Linked DNA regions of Homo sapiens: region 1 is linked to region 2. The links are contacts of gene promoters, found by promoter capture Hi-C in human tissues and cell types (Jung and others, 2019). All regions are on one chromosome and are shown on one strand. Each heading gives the region's core, a stretch centred on a gene start or on the middle of the fragment in contact. The rest is flanking DNA. Distances are from core to core; before and after follow the strand shown. Region 1 has its middle 18 kb from the start of STOML1. Region 2 holds the start of LOXL1 (lysyl oxidase like 1).

Evidence for each region. Contacts are between HindIII fragments. The study calls those that stand out against the background at their distance.
Region 1: a fragment that was not itself captured here is called in contact with the fragment with the promoter of LOXL1 in region 2 in 1 of the 25 tissues and cell types used here (bladder).

What each region holds. Positions count from the first base shown.
Region 1 is chr15:73,971,880-73,976,792 of GRCh38, reverse strand. No RefSeq gene overlaps it. Among named protein-coding and RNA genes, the nearest start is that of STOML1, 18 kb to the left of the region's middle. RefSeq lists an enhancer at 3,380-3,589. The HindIII fragment of the contact is 4,429 bases long and covers 1,423-4,913 here.
Region 2 is chr15:73,922,687-73,927,711 of GRCh38, reverse strand. LOXL1 (lysyl oxidase like 1) reads right to left here and starts at 1,250. Exons shown (of 7, transcript NM_005576.4): 1 at 1-1,250. The coding sequence starts at 928. All of the region lies in intron 1 of LOXL1-AS1 (LOXL1 antisense RNA 1), which reads left to right. RefSeq lists a silencer at 1-2 and enhancers at 1-744, 3,783-4,768, 4,769-5,025. The HindIII fragment of the contact is 8,654 bases long and covers 1-3,795 here.

The DNA of each region.
Region 1 (4,913 bases), core at 2,388-4,887, 47 kb before region 2:
ACAATCTTTATGATATTGAGTCTTCCTATCCTTGAACATGGTGTGTTTTGATGTCTTTTGTGTCCTTTAGAAGTTTTGAAATGTCCTTTATATCGTCTGAACATTTATTCTTAAGTACTTTATCCTTTTTGGTACTACTATAAGTGGAATATTTCTTCCACTATATTATCTGAACAGAATACAATTTGTTGCTCTTTAGTGATTTTGTTTCTCTGTGTATGAGCAGAAAACAAACTCAATTTCTCCTACTATACTCCAGAAACACACTTCTGATACCACATGTGTGGGGTTCCCCCACCCCCCCATATCAAGCAAGGAGCCAGTTCTGCAGTGGCCACCAGCTGGGTGTTCTTAATTCAATTCCAACACTATCTACCTGGAGATAGCGTCAGATCCCAGTCCCACAAGACCGTCCCCCACTTCCAGTGCCAATTACAAGCCCCAGGTTGTATTACCTGTACTTCTGGCCAACTGGCTATAAATCAGGATTCTCATGACCCTCTTCTTGGGTTTGATTAATTTGCTAGAGCACCTCACAGAATGCAGGGAAGCATTTGCTTACGTTTAGCAGTTTATCATAAAGCATATTTTAAAGGATACAAATGAAAAGCCAGATGAAGACATAAACGGGGCACACTCTGGAAGGGCCTCAAATACAAAAGCTTCCATCCCCGAATACAAAATCTTCCATACAAGACCACCTTCCTGGGAAACCCCTGAACTCAGTCGTTACGGGTTTTTATGGCGATTTCATTATGTAGGCATGATCAATTACATCACTGGCCATTGGTGATCAACCTTCGGTTCCTCTCTCCTCCCCGAATGTGGAGGGTGGGGCTCTGAGCAGACGGTTGGATCCCCTGGCAAGCAGCCATCCATCCTGTGGTTATAAACGTTAAGCTCAGTTGTGGCTCCAAACAACAAGCCCGACTTTCACTTTTTTTTTTTTTTTTTTGAGATGGAGTTTCGCTCTGTTGCCCAGGCTGGAGTGCAGTGGCGATCTCAGCTCACTGCAACCTCTGCCTCCCGAGTTCATGCAATTCTCCTCCTCAGCCTCCTGAGCAGCTGGGATTACAGGTATGCACCACCATGCCCACCTAATTTTTGTATTTTTAGTAGAGACAGGGTTTCACCATGTTGGTCAGGCTGGTCTCGAACTCCTGACCTCGTTATCTGCCACCTTGGCCTCCCAAAGTGCCGGGATTACAAACGTGAGCCACTCCGCCCGGCCCATCTTTCACCTTTATGCTTACTCTGGAGCTGCTCCAGAGCTGTTTCAAGAACAAAGGATGAAAGGCCAAATATTTTAAGGAAAGATACTCTTATCACACTCTAGTCTCCTAGGAAATTACAATGATTATATGGGCTGTCAGCCAGGAACTATAGACAAAAACAAAGAATAGATATATCACACTTACTAACTTCTATAAAACAGAATGAGCGTCTTCATGGAGCGGAGCAGAGGACGCAGGTTTTACAGACAGAATAAGCTGAAGAAACCAGAAACAAAAAACAAAGAACGGATCGGTCATTTCAAAATTACTTTCTTAGTAAGGCAAGAACAGGGAAACAGAACAATTGAAAAATAACTGGTGGCCAGGTGTGCGGGCTCACACCTGTAAGCCCAGCACTTTGGGAATCCGAGGCGGGTGAATCACGAGGTCAGATTGAGACCATCTTGGTTAACACAGTGAAACCCCATCTCTACTAAAAATACAAAAAAAATTAGCCAGGCATGGTGGTTGGCGCCTGTAGTCCCAGCTACTTGGAAAACTGAGAAGGGAAGATTTGCGCCCAGTGTGTTTCGGGAATTAATGGGTTCTCGGTCTCACTAACTTCAAGAATGAAGCCACGGATGCTCGTGGTAAGTGTTATAGTTTTTAAACGCGGCCTATCCAGAGTCTGTTACTTTTGATGTTCAGATGTGTGCGGAATTTCTTCCCACTGGTCGGTCTGTGGTCTCACGGGCTCAGGACTGAAACCACAGACCTTCCCAGTGAGTGTTACAGCTCTGAAGGCGGTGCGTCTGGAGTTTTTTCTTCTTCCCGGTGGGTTCGTGGTCTCGCTAGCTTCAGGAGTGAAGCTACAGACTTTCGCGGTTGAGTGTTACGGCTCATAAAGGCAGCGCGGACCCAAACGGTGAACAACAACAAGATTTATCGCAAAGAGTGAAAGAACAAAGCTTCGCCAACGTAAACTGGGCCTCAGCGAGTTGTCACTGCCAGCTTGGGCAAGCCTGCTTTTATTCTCTTATCTGGCCCCACCCACATCCTGCTGATTGGTCCATTTTACAGAGAGCCGATTGGCCCATTTTACAGAGAGCTGATTGGTCCATTTTGACAGGGTGCTGATTGGTGCGTTTACAATCCCTGAGCTAGGCACGAAAGTTCTCCATGTCCCCACTAGATTAGTTAGATACAGAGTGTAGACACAAAAGTTCTCCAAGTCCCCAGCAGAGTAGGTAGATACAGAGTGTCAATTGGTGCATTCACAAACCCTGAGCTAGACACAGGGTGCTGATTGGTGTGTTTACAAACCTTGAGCTAGATACAGACTGCCGATTGGTGTATTTACAATCCCTTAGCTAGACATAAAGGTTCTCCAAGTCCCCAACAGACTCAGGAGCCCAGCTGGCTTCACCCAGTGGATCCCACACGGGGGCTGCAGGTGGAACTGCCTGCCAGTCCCGCGCCGTGTGCCTGCACTCCTCAGTTCTTGGGTGGTCGATGGGATTGGGCTCCATGGAGCAGGGGGCGGCGCTCATCGCGGAGGCTTGGGCCGCACAGGAGCCCACGGAGCTGGGGGGAGGCTCAGGCATGGCGGGCTGCAGGTCTTGAGCCCTGCCCCGCGGGAAGGCAGCTAAGGCCTGGCGAGAAATCGAGCACAGCAGCTGCTGGCCCAGGTGCTAAGACCCTCACTGCCCGGGGCTTGCGGGCCGGCCGGCCGGCCGCACCGAGTGCGGGGCCCGCGGAGCCCACGCCCACCCGGAACTCGCGCTGGCCAGCAAGTGCCGCGCGCAGCCCCGGTTCCCGCCCGCGGCTCTCCCTCCACACCTCCCCGCAAGCTAAGGGAGCCGGCTCCAGCCTTGGCCAGCCCAGAAAGGGGCTCCCACAGTGCAGCAGTGGGCTGAAGGGCTCCTCAAGCGCGGCCAGAGTGGGCACCAAGGCCGAGGAGGCGCCGAGAGCGAGGGCTGCAGGCGCGCTGTCACCTCTCACCAGGAGGAGGTCGAGGCTGCAGTGAGCCATAATTGCACCACTGCACTCCAGCCTGGGCGACAGAGCAAGAACCTGTCTTAGAAAGAAGCAGGGACTGAGCTGGGGAGGAAGGCTGGTGCCTGTGCCCTGGGAAGAAGGGCAAGGTGCTCTCAGAGTTGCTCTGGGGACAGGGACTCTGCCCCACGTTCAGAATTCATCCCCAACCTTGGTCTGCATGCTGGGTATGAGGAGAAAAGTGGCCCAAGAGAAGCCCTAAGTCTCCATGCTGGCTTCTGGGCCCCATGGGAGCCCGAACCACAAAGCTATGCAGGTCACTCCAGAGGGCCCGAGTCACCCCGAGGAGGAGAAGCAGCCCGGGGAGTGGCGTCCAGAGGTCTCCCTGGGAGCCTCGGCTCCTAGGTCAGAGCTCTCGTTTTTTTCTGACGGGAACGCAAAGAAAGCCAGTCCCGAGCTTGTGGTGCCATCTTGTGGCAACACGGGAGATAGCTGGTTTCCTCTTTCCAGAGGCTGCTTTCCAGGGCCGGGGAGGGGCGGGGCAGGGCAGTGAGCTGCTGTAGTAGAGTGACGGTGAAGAGCGGGGTCTAGGGAATATTCACCCTGCCTAGCCTTTCCCAAATGCATTCACACACACACTCACACTCACACACACACCCCTGTTGTACCTGGTCCAGGTGCGCTTGACAGGGTTGTGGGGGTAGAGAGGAAGGTGGGAGGCTTTGGCCAGGAGAAACTGGGGGAGACGGACTACTGCGTCGCCAGAAACTGCAGATTCTGGATTAAATCTACAAAATGAGGCATTCTGAAATCAAACGGCGTTTTAAGACCTTGCTAGGACCAGATGCTATTACCTTTGGAAGTTCCTTCCCACACCTTATTAAATATTAAAATACACAGATTTCTTACGTTAAATATAACATAGCACTGTCAGGTAACACGAGGTGATTTTTGTATGTTTGCCTTGGAAATTACTTGGCTAAGAGTAATTCATTTATGGTGTAATTACCTACGCGTTCTCAGCCCTCCCTGGGTATTCATTTGCATTCTTAAAGTACAGTCACACCCTAAATAACGACGTCTCAGGTCAGTGATGGGCTGCGTATCCGATGGCGGTCCCATAGGATTATAATGGAGCTGACAAATTCCTATCACCTAGTGACGTCATAGCCGATGTAACATTTTAGCTGACACAAAGCATTACTCATGCAAATCTATGACGGAAGAAAGAAACAAACTTGGCAAACCACCATGGACATACTTCTGAAAAGACGGACACTTCTTCAAGAAGTGCCTCAGGCAGGTCCTTTAGGAGAGATTGCAGAAGAAAGCATTGTCCGCTGGGCGTGGTGGCTCACGCCTGTAATCCCAGCACTTTGGGAGGCCGAGGCAGGTGGATCACCTGAGGTCAGGAGTTCGAGACCAGCTTGGCCAATACGGCGAAACCCCGTCGCTGGGCATGGTAGCGCGTGCCTGTACTCCCGGCTACTTGGGAGGCTGAGGCTTGAGGATCCCTTGAACCTTGGAGGTGGAGGCTGCAGTGAGCTGAGATCGTGCCACTGCACTCCAGCCTGGGCGACAGAGTAAGACTCTGTCTCAAAAAAAAAAAAAGAAAAAAAGCATTGTTGCAATAGCAGGTGACAGCTCCATGCGTGTTGTTGCCTATGAAGAACTTCCAGTGGGACAAGGTGTAGAGGTGCAAGA
Region 2 (5,025 bases), core at 1-2,500:
ACCAGCCCAGGCGTGGGTCTCCGCCATGGGCCTGCGCCGCCTCGGGACCGGGGTCAGGGTAGGCCTGCTCGAAGCCGGGGGTGCCCTCGCTGTACAGACTGTGCGAGTAGCGGCGGTCCAGGCCGTCGGGGGGCGGCGGCGGCGGCGGCACGTAGGGCCTCTCGGGGGCCGGGTAGAAGCCCTGAGGCGGGTACTCGGGCAGCTCTTCGCCGCCGCCGTACTCCTCGTAGCGCGCCCGGGGCTGGTAGGGGTAGATGACCCCCGCCGAGGCCACGGCCGCCGCCCCCGCGCCCACGCCGCCGCCCGCGGGCCGGTAGTACACGAAACCCTGGTCGTAGGTCCGCGACGCGGGGTCGTAGTTCTCGTACTGGCTGACGAAGGGCGCCTGCGGGTAGGGGAACTGCTGCGGGTAGGAGGGCTGCTGGCGGTAGGTGCTGGCGAAGGCCGAAGCCGAGACCGAGGAGGCGGAGCCCCCGTGCCGTTGCTGGGAGACGGAGGTGCGGGCCCGGGCCATGCCCGTGCTGTCCCCGACGGCCACCTCGCGCCAGTTGTCGGGCACCTGGCCAAAGCCGAATGGGTGCCGCGCCTGGCCGCGCACGGTGTCCGAGCCCACGCGCCCCGGCAGGGGCAGGGACGGCGCCTGCCGACGCCGGGGGCTCCCGTGGCTGCGCCGCTGCTGGGCCTGGGGCGCGCCGGCCAGCAGCACCCGGGAGCTACTCTCGGAGCGCTGAGGTCCGGCCGGCACGTACTCTGAGCCCGAGTTGAGCAAGCTGTACACCTGCCCGTTGTTCTCCCACTGGATCAGCTGCCGCCAGCGGGCGGGGTCCGAGCCCTGCCCGGGCTGCGCCTGCTGCCCGTGCACCAGCACGCACAGGCAGGCGCCCCACACCAGGGCCCCCAGCTGCCGGCTGCCTCGGGCCAGAGCCATGGTGACCCCTCTGCAGAGGCCTGGTGGACAGAGAGGCTCTCAGGAGTGGCCCCCTGGGCGTGCTTCTCTTCCCACGGCCTCGAGGACAGGAAGGCTCCTTGCTTGCCCCAGCTCTAGCTTTGTCCATGCTGGCCTTGTCCCGAGCGGGACGGCTCCTCCGATGACAGCATTTCAAGGCCAAGGGGTCAGGGCAGGGCAGGGGCGGTGCCCAGGGCTGCACGAGGCTCTCCGCAGGGCACCGGGCGGGCAGGACCGCCTGTGGGCCTTACATGGCCAGCCCCGCACTGGCTGGCCGCTCGGCTGGCGCTTTCCCACTCTGAATGAATAAGCAACAGGCTGGGAGCGTCGGGAGGCTTCGGCCTCCTGGTCCGCCTGCTGGGGCCTCCTCCGCGGGGCCCTATGGCCCGCCGGCTTTTAGCTATGCGCCGGTCCCACAGCTGCAGTGCTCCCTCAGTCCCTGGAGTTCCCAGCCAAGCCACAGACCTGCCTCTGAGGAAGGGAATCGAGCAGGGAGTAGGAGGGGACCTCTGGGGACTCGGGCCTGGTAAGTGGGGCTCTGGCAGGCAGAACGGGGCTGGGGTGTCAGCACCACCCCGCCCATTCCTCTCTGCTTTGGTCACAGCATCCCTGGTCTCCACCTTGCTCACTGGCTTCTCGTTTGGGCTGGAATGGGCCTCTGACTCCTGTCTGCCCCAGCCTCCTTCCCGTACTCCCGGGTTCTCCCTTTTCCTTGTTCCCTAAAGCCAGTGCTAATTAAGACACACCCTCTTTGCATGTTCCTTCCACCATTATCCCACACCCTCAATAGGAAGAAAAAAAAAAAAAAGACACACCCTCTTTGTTGGTGGGCCTCCTCGGGGAGATGCTGAACAGGGACCACTCTCTAATTCCAGGTCCCAGGTGCACCGCAGCTCTTGGGCCTGCGAAGAGAGGCACTGGAGCTGCACCTTTTCCCTCGTGGCACACCTCAGGGGCTTACTTTCCCAGTCTGAAGAGTGGGGTGTATCCCTGAGCTGAAAAGCACTTGTGAGATCCTGGGAGAGATCAACTTCCCAGACATCACGTATGGTTTCTGTCCTACATCTCTTGGCTCTGCATAGCCTGGGAATAACTTGAGTGTACACATGGATAAAATGAAACTGGGGGCTGTCTTTGATATGGGACAGGGGTCACTGTGAGGCAGAGAAGCCAGTAAGCATTGAACAACAGAAGGGGGTTCCGGAGACCTGGCCTGGTCCTGTTGCTGTGTGGCTTAGTCCCTTACTCTATCTGATCCAGGTGCCACGGCTTACCAATGGAAGATTAGGCCAGATGGCTCCTGAGAGTGCTTTGGGAGATTCTCTGTTCCTTCTGGGAATGGCAGGGATAGGAGGGGGTCCCAGAAGTTTGAACGCTTTGGCATCCAAGAAATCACACTCCAAATACTGCTCTTCTGGCCTCCCCTGGGCTGCCTTCTCCAACCGTGTTCCTGGGAACCGAAGGGCAGAAATTGCCCTCTTGGGCTTATAAACAAGGTATGAAGGACCTGTCCTTAATTTGGCTCCTGTATATTCTTTATTTTGGAAATGCCTGGAGCCCACCTAGAGAGGAGGCAACTAGAGTGGACATTCTTTGGGAACTATAGACCTCCCAACCCCATCCTTGCCAGGCAGCATTTGTTCACCCATTGCACTGTTCTTCAGGACTGAGGCTTGGACTCCAGCATGTCTCTACCCTTTAAATGCCCAGAATCCAGCCCAGAGGTAGGGGGCTTCCAATACCTCCTGGCCAGCAACTTGTCAACGCTGACACCTCAGCTCCCCAGCATGGGGTTTCCATCTCAGACTCCAGACAAGATTCCTCCAAAGAGCCACTGGTGTGACTGACACCAAGCAAGATGCTGAGGCAGGGCTTACTGAGGGCCGGGACCTGGAGGGTTAAGCCTTCCCTCCCTCCTGCTTGCCCCCTGCAGTGTTGGCCTCAGCTGCTTGGAATCCCTGGGGTCCTGTAGGGCCCTCCCGCCAGCCAGATGGGCAGCTGCTGCAGCAGAGGAGGGGGAGAAATGGAAACAGGCCTCAGGGTACCCCTAGGCAGGGAGGGAAGGGAAGAGGAGTGGAGGGAGGACAGAGGATGGCTGTGAGGAAGGGAACTCAGTTGCCCTAACGTGAAGGCAGGACCCCTCGCCTTGACTCGGACAGCAGGGCAGGGGCTGCCTCAAGGCTTTGGATGTGGGGGGATCAGGGCACATGCCATTCCACTCAGCGGGCCTCAGAGCCAGCTCTTGGCGTGAAACCTTACCCGATGCTGGCTCCTGCTCCTCTCTCTTTTTTTCTTAATAAGGTCGAATCAGAGTGAGTCAGAGGAGCCAAGTTTCCTGTTAGGCTCTATTTGAATAAACTCTGCTCTGAACATAGCCTGGGCCTCTGCACAGACTCCCCTGGCCAGGACTGCGCTCCTGCCAGCCATCCCTGCTGAGATGGAGACCTGGGGGTCCACACCATGACTTGAGCTAGGGACCTGGCCTGGCCCAGCCACTCCCCGGGGAAGCTTTTTAAGCTCTCAGAGCTTCAGAGTCCCGTCTGTGACCTGGGGGTAATCATACCTTTCTTGTGGCATATTTGAGAGGATGGAATGAGAGGATTATGAAAAGTCCCCAGCACAGAGCCAGACATGTGGCCACTATTTTCCTTCTTTCCTCTTGACTTGTGAGAGAAGGGAGGGATTTATCTCTTGGGGTTGACCCCCACTCCCACTTCCTCTGTCTTTCCTGTTTTTATCTGTCTTCAGCATCTTTCCTTGCTCAGGGTGAACCTTGTGCAGGGGGGCCAGAGGTGGCCCCTCCACCAGAGCTGTCCTCTCCCTTCCTCTCTACTCCCTCCTTCTGACCTCATTCTACTTGGGTTTAGGTCTCCTGCAGTGGCTGACAGGCCCAGCAGTTCTGTGAGCCCAGGGGAGCCTGCCTTCCATCACCTCTCCTCATGCTGGGCAAGGCCTTGCCTTGGTGGCTGGAGGTGTCCTGGCATCCTTAGGTTGAAACCTGCAGGGTGGGGTCCTAAAAGAGACCTGGGCAGGTTATGGAGGGTGCAGAGCTGGGGTCAAATGAGGGCGTGGACTCGAAGGCTGAGCTGAGCCAGAGCTGTCTGGGGTGAAGGGCAGCTTCTCTCTCCGCCTGTCCCTGCAGGCTGGGATTCACACCCACATTTTTAAGACCCAGGCATGTGCTTGAAGCTTGTTGCCAGTTCCTGGCACTAGGAACCGGTGTCAAGGGACCCTCGGAGGGGTGGTGATAGAAGGATGAAAGAGCCTGTTGATTGCGCATGACTTTATTAAGCCCCTGCCACGTGCTCAGCTCTGTGTTGCCGGGGCTCCCACGGAGCAGCCAGGGTCCTGTGACCCTGTCATGGAAGGCTGAGTTCTGGAAAGTCCATGGGGGAACCAGGAAGCAGCAGGCCTGACCAGCAGCGGGTCTGGGGAGCAGAGAGGGGTCAGGAGCTGTGGGATTCCTCCCTTGCTTTGCAGAGGGACGTACTAGGAGGCCCATGGTGGGTCGGAATTTTCTGTGATAGTGGGGATGCCAAGAGGGAAGGCCCCAGAGCACCCAAACCCTCCATCTTCCAGGCTGCGCTGTAGATGGGTTTGGGGCAGCACTGGGAATCCAAGACCCAACCCAGGCAGCTGCTGCCTCTGGAAAGCGGGCTGGAGGAAGTGCTGAGTGAGGAGGCTGGGCGAGCTGGCACAGAAAGTGCTGACTCTGCAGGGAGAGGACCACCGAGTGACCACTGCCAGCTGGGCCCCGTGCCTACCCCTCCCCTGCAGCCACATCTGGCGCAACGGTGGGGTGGGGGACCCAGTCCCCAGGGCCGAGGTAGCCGAGGAGGGGGCCTGAGGAGGGGGCCAGAGCCATGGGTTTGGAAGTGTTTCTTCAGGGCTGGAACTCCACTCCGGAAGTGGGGGAGGTGAGGTCAGAGCCTTTTCGAGGGACTAATGGGGTTGGGGGTGGAAGGAACCCACCCTTCTCTAGGACCCAGGAGAATTCTGTGGCTCTGGCTACTTCCCAGTCGGTTTTCCTCCCAGCTCTCTGGGTCCCCTCCCCTACGGCTCCCAGGGGATTTGGAAAT